Regions from separate parts of the Homo sapiens genome. Here region 2 is linked to region 1. The links are contacts of gene promoters, found by promoter capture Hi-C in human tissues and cell types (Jung and others, 2019). All regions are on one chromosome and are shown on one strand. Each heading gives the region's core, a stretch centred on a gene start or on the middle of the fragment in contact. The rest is flanking DNA. Distances are from core to core; before and after follow the strand shown.

The links. Contacts are between HindIII fragments. The study calls those that stand out against the background at their distance.
Region 2: a contact is called between a fragment that was not itself captured here and the fragment with the promoter of RNF180 in region 1, in 3 of the 25 tissues and cell types used here (heart right ventricle, hippocampus and thymus).

Annotation. Positions count from the first base shown.
Region 1 is chr5:64,164,475-64,169,165 of GRCh38, forward strand. It overlaps RNF180 (ring finger protein 180), which reads left to right and starts at 1,369. Exons shown (of 8, transcript NM_001113561.2): 1 at 1,369-1,479. The HindIII fragment of the contact is 11,374 bases long and covers 1-4,691 here.
Region 2 is chr5:64,205,470-64,210,291 of GRCh38, forward strand. The region is part of intron 2 of RNF180 (ring finger protein 180); the gene reads left to right. Among named protein-coding and RNA genes, the nearest start is that of RNF180, 42 kb to the left of the region's middle. The HindIII fragment of the contact is 5,932 bases long and covers 1-4,770 here.

The DNA.
Region 1 (4,691 bases), core at 119-2,618:
CTACTAGCTGTTAGATATTCCACCTTTCCTTGCCTAACTGCCCTGGCTAGTGCCTCCACTATAATGTTGAATAGAAGTAGCAACAATTGACATCCTTGTCTTATTCCTGATTTTAGGTGAAAATGTTCATTCTTTCAAGATTAAGTATGATGTTAATTATGGATTTTTCAGAGGCTCTTTATTAGGTTGAAGAAGTTTCCTTTTATTCCTAGTTGAAGTGTTTATATCAAGAAAGGGTGTTAGATTTTGTCAATTGCTTTTCCTTCATCTTTTGAGATGATCATGTGGTTTTTACATTTAGTCTATTTAAAGTAGTGTGTTACATTAATTTTGTATGTCACACCAAACTTGCATTCCTGAGATAAATCCTACTTGGTCATGTTGTATAATTTTTTAAAATGTTGCTGGGTTTGGCTTGCTAGTATTTTGTTGAGGATTTTTATGTTACTATGCATAAGGTATATTGGTCTGTAGTTTTCTCGTGATGTCTTTCATTTTGTTCTTTATTTCCTTGTATTTCCAGATGGGAAGTCACTGCATACAGCCCTAATCTTAGGACAAGTTTCCAAGTAAGCCACTTCAGGCAAATAAAAATTTCTGTATCTAGCAGAGAAACAAAGCTGTATATTTTTTTTGAGGTTCCCTCCTAGCTCCCTTCCCTCTCCTCAAGCCAACTAATAAAACTTGCTTTTTATATTCCGAATCTTATTTATAGTCGTTTGATCATCTATGAGGCACCTGCAAGTCAACATTTACTGCACGCGGCCCCCTCACTCCCTAAATAAGCACTTTTGATTTACCGCCAGTCATCAACTCACCTCCCAACTGCAATTTGTCAAGAGTAGTGTCAGGTGCACTTTAGTGGTTAATCTCCTTGCACATCGGTGGAACTTTAGGCACAAGAAGGTAAGCAACGAAGATAGTGATATACGAAGGGAAAACTAAACCCAGGTAGCGTTGCCAGCTTAAAAGTCCTAGGCATGGGGATGGGTGGATGGGACGCCGGCCTAAGATTTTAGCAGGGAACAGACCCAGTAGTTGGCTTGGATCTCTTAACTCCAGAAAAGGCCGAGTGAGGACAAGGGAGACCACAGGGATAATTTCTGTGGCTCTGGTAAGGGGATGACAAGGGAGAAAAACTTTCCCACGGTTCCGTCTGGCCCGCGGCGCTTGTCTGCCTGCGCGGGGTCAAAGCCCGGCGCCGCCCACGCGCGGCTCGGGTGGGAACCCGCAGACGTGGGGCGAGCAGGGCCGCTGGCTGTGGCGGGCGAGCGCCGGGGCGCCACGTCCGAGGCCGCGGGGTCGGGGCTGCAGGCACAGCTCGAGCGCTTTCCGCGGGGTTTGGCTCCTGTCGCTTCCCGTCTCGCCGAACCGGCATCGCCGCCGCCGGAGCCGCAGCGAGTCCTCAGAGCCTGGCTGCTGGCGGCCGGGAGCGCCGGGACGGGGCGCGAAGCCGGAGGCTCCGGGACGTGGATACAGGTAAAGGCCGGCGGGTCGGAGTCGGGCGGGGCGCGGCGGCGGCGCCTCTCGGAGGGACCTGGCCTCGGCCGGGCCCTACCCAGCCGCGGTGGCCCGGGCCCCCACGTTGGCCCAGGCGGGGACGTGCCAAGGGGCTGGGCTAGGGTTGCCGCTGGCCTGGCCGCCTCTCGCCCGGCGGGCCTCAGGTGACGCGGCCGCGGCTTAACTTTCGCACCTGAGGCTCTCGGAGCGGCCTCGGGGCGCGCCCACCTGGAGGTTGGAATTACACAGGGTCGAAAAAGCTGAGTCCTGGAGGCGAGGCGCTGTAGGTGTGGCGGAGGAGGCCGGGGAAGGTGGGGTGGGTGCCAGGGGTCCAGTACTGAACCCTCTCCAGGTCTGAGGTGGGGAACTGCGTCTTGTTTAATTTCGGAGCTTGTGGGGACCACACAGCCCCTTCCACGGCCGATTCCCTCTGCACGGTTCCACTTTCCTTTGTCTAGCCCATTTCAGTATCGGCGTCGCAGTCGCTTTTGTTGCAGCCTTGGGTCCGGAGTGTACGACTTTCTGCTAGGCAGAGGTCATAAGCTCTGAAATCCATCGGGCGGAGGTGGGGAGATGGTCCTTTGGTGGGAAATTACTAGTGCTGTTATGAACACTAACACATATATTCCACCTTGTTTTTTTTCGAGATAGTGCTCATTATTTTCGTAGCATCTAACAGTTGTAAGTGTATCTGTGAGAGCATTCATTAGTTAACTTCAAAGGAGCATTATGCGGTCGGGTTACTATTATCCCATTTTATAGACCAGACAGCTGAGGCACCCAAGAGGCAAAGTGATTATATCAAAACTAAGCAGTCAATCCTTGTGGAATCTGTGATTAGAACTTGTCTGACTAGAGTTGTCCTTGGTCCAGTTGGTCTCTTAGTCTCAAACAAAATTTAGCTCTCAAAGATGGACGGTCTGATGCTCATTGTATTTTTATATACTCATTAATTGTTAAAACCTTTCTTAAAAAATAGAGTCAATTCCTTTCAGACTCCTGTTATAGTACCCCTAAAAGTGATACTTGAAAGATCATAAACACTTCAGTTTCAAATGAGTGGTATCATTTGAGTCGTAGAAAGAAGTAAAATTCCGTTGTCTTTTATCTGTCAGACTTTCGTCTCTTGTATAAATGTAGTGCCACTGGCAGCCCAAAGATACTTTGGTGACAATGGCAGAAACTCTAAATATTTATTTAATAAGTAGAATCGAGGAGGCGAGCTGTTAGGTTTCCCGGAATATTTGAGTAAGTTTTTTCTCATAAAGAATCAAAAATTTAGGAGAATAGTCATTTTAATTATTGTAATGAAAAATTATCTCGTAATTGTGTACGTGTTATGTTGTACTTTATCTCTCTGGAACCATCAACAATTTACCAGTTTCCCTAGGGTTTGCTCTTAGTTTTGTCAATGGTATTTTATTACCCCATTTTTCTTCCTCTCTTTCATTTTTTGTGTGTTTGGTTTTTCAAAGTGAAGATTTTTTCTTCGAAAATTCAAAAAATAATATTGAAAAAATCAACAAGATTTCTTTCTTGATAAAATAGACTTAATTAGCACTTTTTTGAGTGTGTCTGAGGACCGACACCAGCCTCTTTAATAAGCACCTCATACATGAAGCAGGAATTCTTCCAGGCAAGAATGCAATAAATTAATCATTTTAATATATTTCTGTAATATGACATAGCTACCTGAATGATAATGCTTTTTACTCTTACAATGTCTTTTTCATTAAGGAGCATAAAGATTAAAAATTTCGCTTAAATTTTGCTAACTACATAGTACAAGGGGACAGTGTGCTTAGACTTAATTGTTGCTTTCATGGAATAAACACAGTTCTCTCTCCCTTATACCACCTCCATTTGGCCATCTGAAAAAAGAATGGTGATGTGTCCTTTCCTTCATAGGGATATTTGGGGAATTAATGAAGTAATATCTCGAAAGTAGTTTGAACTCCACGGAAGAAAGCAGCTTTGTAACTTTGAAATGTGATTGCAGAGTCTTGAAACATTTTCCCTCCTTAAACGTGCTGTCGTTTATATTTTTAGAGAGTGGTCATTCCAAGTAGTCACCTCAGGAGGCTAAAAACTTATTCCAGTAGTGCTGCTGCCATTCATAATTATTTTGTATTTTTTGAAATTTCTAGTCAATTTACAAGCAAAATAAAAACATTTCATGATAACATTCATAAACACTTGTTTTTGTTTCTATTTTTTAATCAAAAAACTAATTCAGCTTGAGTACCTATTTTCTTTGCTAAATTTGGCAGAATGATTTCTACATGGTTGTAAAACTCAGTTCTACCTTCAAGATTTTACCACTATTAAGGATATTTAAAGGATTGTCCTGATGGCTACGAAGGCAGTTTTAAAAGGGCAGTTTAAAAATAGTTTAAAATAATGACAGACATTGTTAGAATTTGCAACCTTCCCAGAAGTCTACTACAAAGGGGACAGTGCTTACTTGTAGGCTGAAGTTCTGTGTGTATGTGCACATTTGCATGTAATCTCTGTTGTAACCTATCAATTATCTCTTTTCATCACATTGATTTCTTAGAAATCAGATATTTTACTTACATATTAAATAGAGTACATTAAGTAGATCACATCATACTGGAACAATGTTAGATTGGGAGTGTATTTCATAGAGAAGTTTGAATGTCACATAAATTTAAATTTAAATCTTTGTAACAATTTTGAATAATAAAATGTGGCTCCATATTGTATGTTTTGAGTGTAATACAGCCAAGGCAATATAGCCTCAAAATATAAAATTGCTATTTCCAAAAAAAAAGTTATTAACAAGTTGTGTGTGCAACAGACTTTCCTGACCACACCGATGTCAAAAGAAAAAATTTCGACAAATTTAGTTTAAATATCAAATTGGCTTTTATTAGCAATTCTGAAATTGGGTAGCATCTCATTCCATAAAATAGAATGCCATGCCCTAGGCATGGCAGAATAGTTGGTTTTTGTAAGGTGGAAACAAGGAAACAGAGTATTTTTAAAAGTCTGTTGGTTAACATCAGATTACTTAAGGTTACTTTTAAGTGTTAAAGCAGAAGGGGCTACTTATGCCAGCTTAGGTTTACTAAGCCCTTTCCTGTTGCAGCAAATCTCCTGTTTTCAGGAAAAACTAGTTTGGTCTTTGAACTAGTTCCTTACAGTTTCAGACTGATTATGTGGCACTG
Region 2 (4,822 bases), core at 555-3,054, 41 kb after region 1:
AGAAATGGTCTCCATTTGTGCAATCTGTGTTAGGGAGTGGCGTCCTTAGTTTTAGTTAGTTTTGTTATGGTTTTGGACATGTGAAGTTTATGTGGCCTGTAGAATATTCAAATATTTTAGGAGGCTGCTCGGTTCTATGGATGTGGGATTCAGAAGAGAGATCTGAACTAAAACTGTGGATCATCAGCATATAAGTTTTAGGTGAAGCTGTGAGAGTAGATGAGATTACCATGCAGTGTATGAATGGAGTGAGAGTTAAGTAGTTCCTATCATACAGGAACATTTATAGGATAGACAGAAAAAGAGAAGCTCTCACAAAGGAGAAAAAAAAAGAGTGAAAAAAATAGAACCGAAAATAGGAGAGAGCAGTAGTTACTATCATATAGGAACACTTACAGGATAGACAGAAAAAGAGAAGCTCCACAAAGGAGAAGAAAAAGAGTGAAAAAATAGAACCGAAAATTAGGATACAATATTATGGAAGTCAAGGGACGAACATTCTCTAGGAAAAAAAAAGTGTTGATGATTCGTGTTAAATGTTAAATGAGATCTAGAAGATCAGACATTTCCTTCAGTGTGCAGATTGTATACTGCACAATTCTAGAGGGAGCTAGTTTGTGAAAGGTTTGCCCTGGATTTGTGCAGTTAGCATACAAACTATATATCCATATGTAAAGACCCTAAATGAGAGTTAAAAGTGTCCATTGGTTTTAAAAGAAATCGTTGGTCAACATTCATTGTAGTTATGAGACTTTTAGGGGCAGTTACCAAATTCTACTGGGTTCAGATAATTGGGAGCTGAGGGATGGTCAAACACTTACAATAAAACACTTTAATTATTAGGTTATGACTTCTTCCATCACCAGGCTATGAAGTATTTCATCTGTATAACACCATTGCCAATGCAGTGGCTGACATGAATAGGACTGATGAATGTTGAATTGATTATTAGAGTATATACCTCCTCCCTCATGTTTTTTGGTTAGATAATTTGCTTATTTTCTCTCTGGCTTTATTATTCTGGTGGTATTTTTCCTTCAATGGCTGTAATACTGAAATAAATATTTTTATGCTTATTACATTTTTAATACTTTGTGTTCGCTCTTCTTAGTGATACCGTATATTTGTTCCATACTAGTCTTAGCACATGCTATGCTATGGACTGAATTGTATGCCCTCCAAGTGCATATTTTAAAGGTGCAGTGTGACTATATCTGGAGATAGGGTCTTTAGGAGTTAATGAAGGTTAAATGAGAGCATAAAGATGGGGCCTTAATCCAATAGGACTGTGGCTCTATAAAAGGAAGAAAAGAGAAAGAGATCCTGTGAGGACACAGTGAGTAAGCAGCCACCTGCAGGCTAGAAAGAGAGCCCTCGCCAGAGCCAGAACATGCTGGCACCCTGATCTCAAACCTTCAGCCTCTAGAACTGAGAGAAAATAAGTTGCTATTGTTTAAGTCATTCAGTCTCTGGTATTTTGTGATGGCATCCCAAGCAGACTAAGACCACACACGTCCTGTAATAGGAACTGGAAACTCAAAGATGAGCAGAAGAGAAATGGTATGTCCTTATGAAGTTTTCAGGATTTATCATTTAATCTTCTATTAATATTATAACAATTATAAATGTATTCTAATTATATTATAATCATATTAAAAGTTTGATATTTATAACTTAATAGTGAAATAATTTAATATTTATAATATTGACCAGTTATGTAAATATTAAATATTGATTACTCATATAGATATAAATTATTAGCTGTTTAAGTGGCAAAAAGGAAAAGTATAGGAAGCCATAAGAGTAGGATATAGATAGAATGCTGGACCTAGCTGTAAGGCTTTTCTGAGGAAGTGACCTGTGTAGAGATATGATGGATAAGTGAGGACAGTACAGGTGGGAGAACATTCCAAGATTCAGGACCAGCGTGTTCAAAGGCCCTGTGGTGGATCTCCGGAACTAAAATAGATTGCCACTATTGGAGTTCAGAGATGAAGAGGGAGTTTGGCAAGATCTGAGAGTAGAAAGTTGGGTGTTGTTCAAATCATGTATGGTCTTGTAAGTCAAAGACTTTGATCTTTATCGTAGGAGCTGGCAAGTCAGTGGGAGGAAGTAACATGACTTTTGAATTTTAAGATTATTTTGGTAATAGTGTGAAGAGTGAATTAGAAAGGTACCAAGAATTGAGGCAGGGAGCCTGTTTGTTTTTTAAGTGAGGCTTTCATTTTTTTCAATTCATTGTGACCTTTTGATTATAAAAAGTTTTTACCCTTAAAGTACCTTCTCAAAGTACAAATAGACAAACTAGGCAGTCCAATAGAATTGTGGTTCCTTTACATTTGTGACACTTTAGACAATTAATAATGTTAATTTAAATGACATTTTTGTTACATAGTCTTTTCCCTGTGGTGTTAGCTGCGGTAGTCAAATAATATAGTTGGCTCACATTTAAAGAATTAGCTGAAGGAATGTTATTGCTTACTTTGGAAATGCAAAGGGTTAAACATCTTCCAAAATATTATGTAATAATATTATCAACTTTTTACATGTAACTTGTTACACTTAATTAAAAATATTAAAGATCACATAATGATAAAAAATAAGGCATCAAATTTGTAATTTTAAAATTAAGTGATATTTTTCTGTTATAGAAACTGAGAATATTCCCAACACTTAAAGAAAAAATTAAAATAATACATTGGCTCCCTCTGCTGCTTGAACAAATTATTTCATTTACAAACATAATGTTGTCAACATTTTTCTGACATTATTACATGAAATTGCTATTACTTTCTCCTCCTTTTCCTTCCTCCTTCCTCCGTGTGGGAGATTTGAGACAGAAAGAAAATCTGTTTAGTAATTTTTTTACAATCCTGGTAAAACAGTTCTAATTTTCAGTCAAATTTTTCCCGAGGAGATAACTTGTTGTGCTAATACTTTGATGGCTTTAAATTCCTAAAATTGGGTTGCCTCCAGTTTCATCACTCATCTTAAAATATGTCCATCAAAACTTGTTTTATCATTTATATATTTGTGTGATTTTAAAAAATTAACTGACTTAAAACTTAATAGTTGATACATCCTCTTTACTTGTAGAATTATATTGGAAATAAATATTACAAATAAAAATGTATTTTTTCTAAGACTGTGTTGGTAAATACAGGTGAAAGTAGTTGGCAGTTTCATTTATAGTTGAGGTGTCTGTGTTTACCCTGGTCCATGTGTAAAGTTTTCAGAAAACGAAACAATGCTATAAATTCAACCCAGCTTTTTATGCTTTCCTACCTGTATGAATTGCTATTCCTCTCTTTTTGGTTGTGAGGAGATGAAGGTATACTTTAAATTTTAGCTATTTAAAAGAAAAAAATATATGCTGTTTTATATTATTTTTTCTCAAATGAAGGAGGTTGGGTTGAGGGGTACAAAAGGAGAATCAGCTGTGGAATTTTTTCTAAACATACCTCTCCCTACATAAATTTATTTTAGTTAATTTAAAAATAAGATATGCTTCAGTTTTAGTTTTATAAGCGTTAGAGAAGAATAGCAGTATCATACCTTAAAGCATACACAGGCTAGAGATATAAGAAAGTTTATTGCCCTAAAAACTATAGTATTTTATATGGCATAAGAGGCAATGTGGAAGCTTGGGATCGCTTGTTTCAGTGTTCTTATCTGTAAGACAGTAAAAACTCTTAAAACGGTGCCTGTGCATAGTGAGCACAATATAAATATTTGTTATTTAGTGAAAATAAAAAGAATAAGTACATTGTAAAACTTTCTTCTACCTACAACTGTGACTCCAGTGTTTATTCTCATAGGAGTATTCATAAAGCATTTCCAAAATTTATAGTGGGTAGTGGTTTTTTCGTGTTATGATCAATGCTATGTGATTAAAAAATGATCAATTTATATGATTAAATGAAATAATGAAATGTACATAGTAAAATAAGAAGTAGGACAGTGAAATATTAATACATTAATACAAATAATAGATGTACCTTTATGCAACACAGTCCCTGGCATATTAATAAGTATGTCTCTACATGCTTTGTGTGGTCAACACTGTGTTTAGTAATCACTAAATAAATATTGATAGGCTGAGTGCCATTAACTTACTTTGACATTGATAATCTATTATTCTACCAGTGTAGAAATTTCCTCCCTCTCTCTGTCACTGCCACCCTTCTTTCCTTCCTCTGTATGTAGACATAATCCTGAAAAGTCAGAACAAAATTCTGGATCTGATAATGAAAAGATTACTTCATTTGTCAATTCTAGTTTGTATTCTCTGTAAGATTGTTTTAAAGAATTCATTAGAGTTATGCTAATCTTCATAATTGTCAGCTCCTAATGAAAAGAGCTAGTGTGTGTGAGTATGGATGTTTCACAAAATTAATTCTACTTTTTCAAAAACTGTATCCATACCTTTATTTTGTTTCTGGGGCAAAATAGATAAAGCTATACTGTTTAGTTTTATTGAGTCACTTCCAATAGGTTTCCCAAGTTTCTTTAAAAATTTTGTGTATGAGTTGGAGAGAAAAGCTAGTCATGACTGAACTGTTATTGTAAATTAATCACTATTAGAACTTAGAAAAGGCAGATGACAGAAGCACACAAAATCAAACACTAAAAAAAGATGTCTCTGGGTTCTTAAGTTTAGCGTGTATGAAGATCATAAGTAGGGATTTATTTATAGACACTCTTAGGTGTGTCCCAGGAGTATAAATTTTTAGTAAGTAACCCAACTTATGTCTAATGCTAGTGATCTAGGGACCACATTTTGTGAAATACTCTTCTAAGGTGGCTCTTCACAGAGTTCATG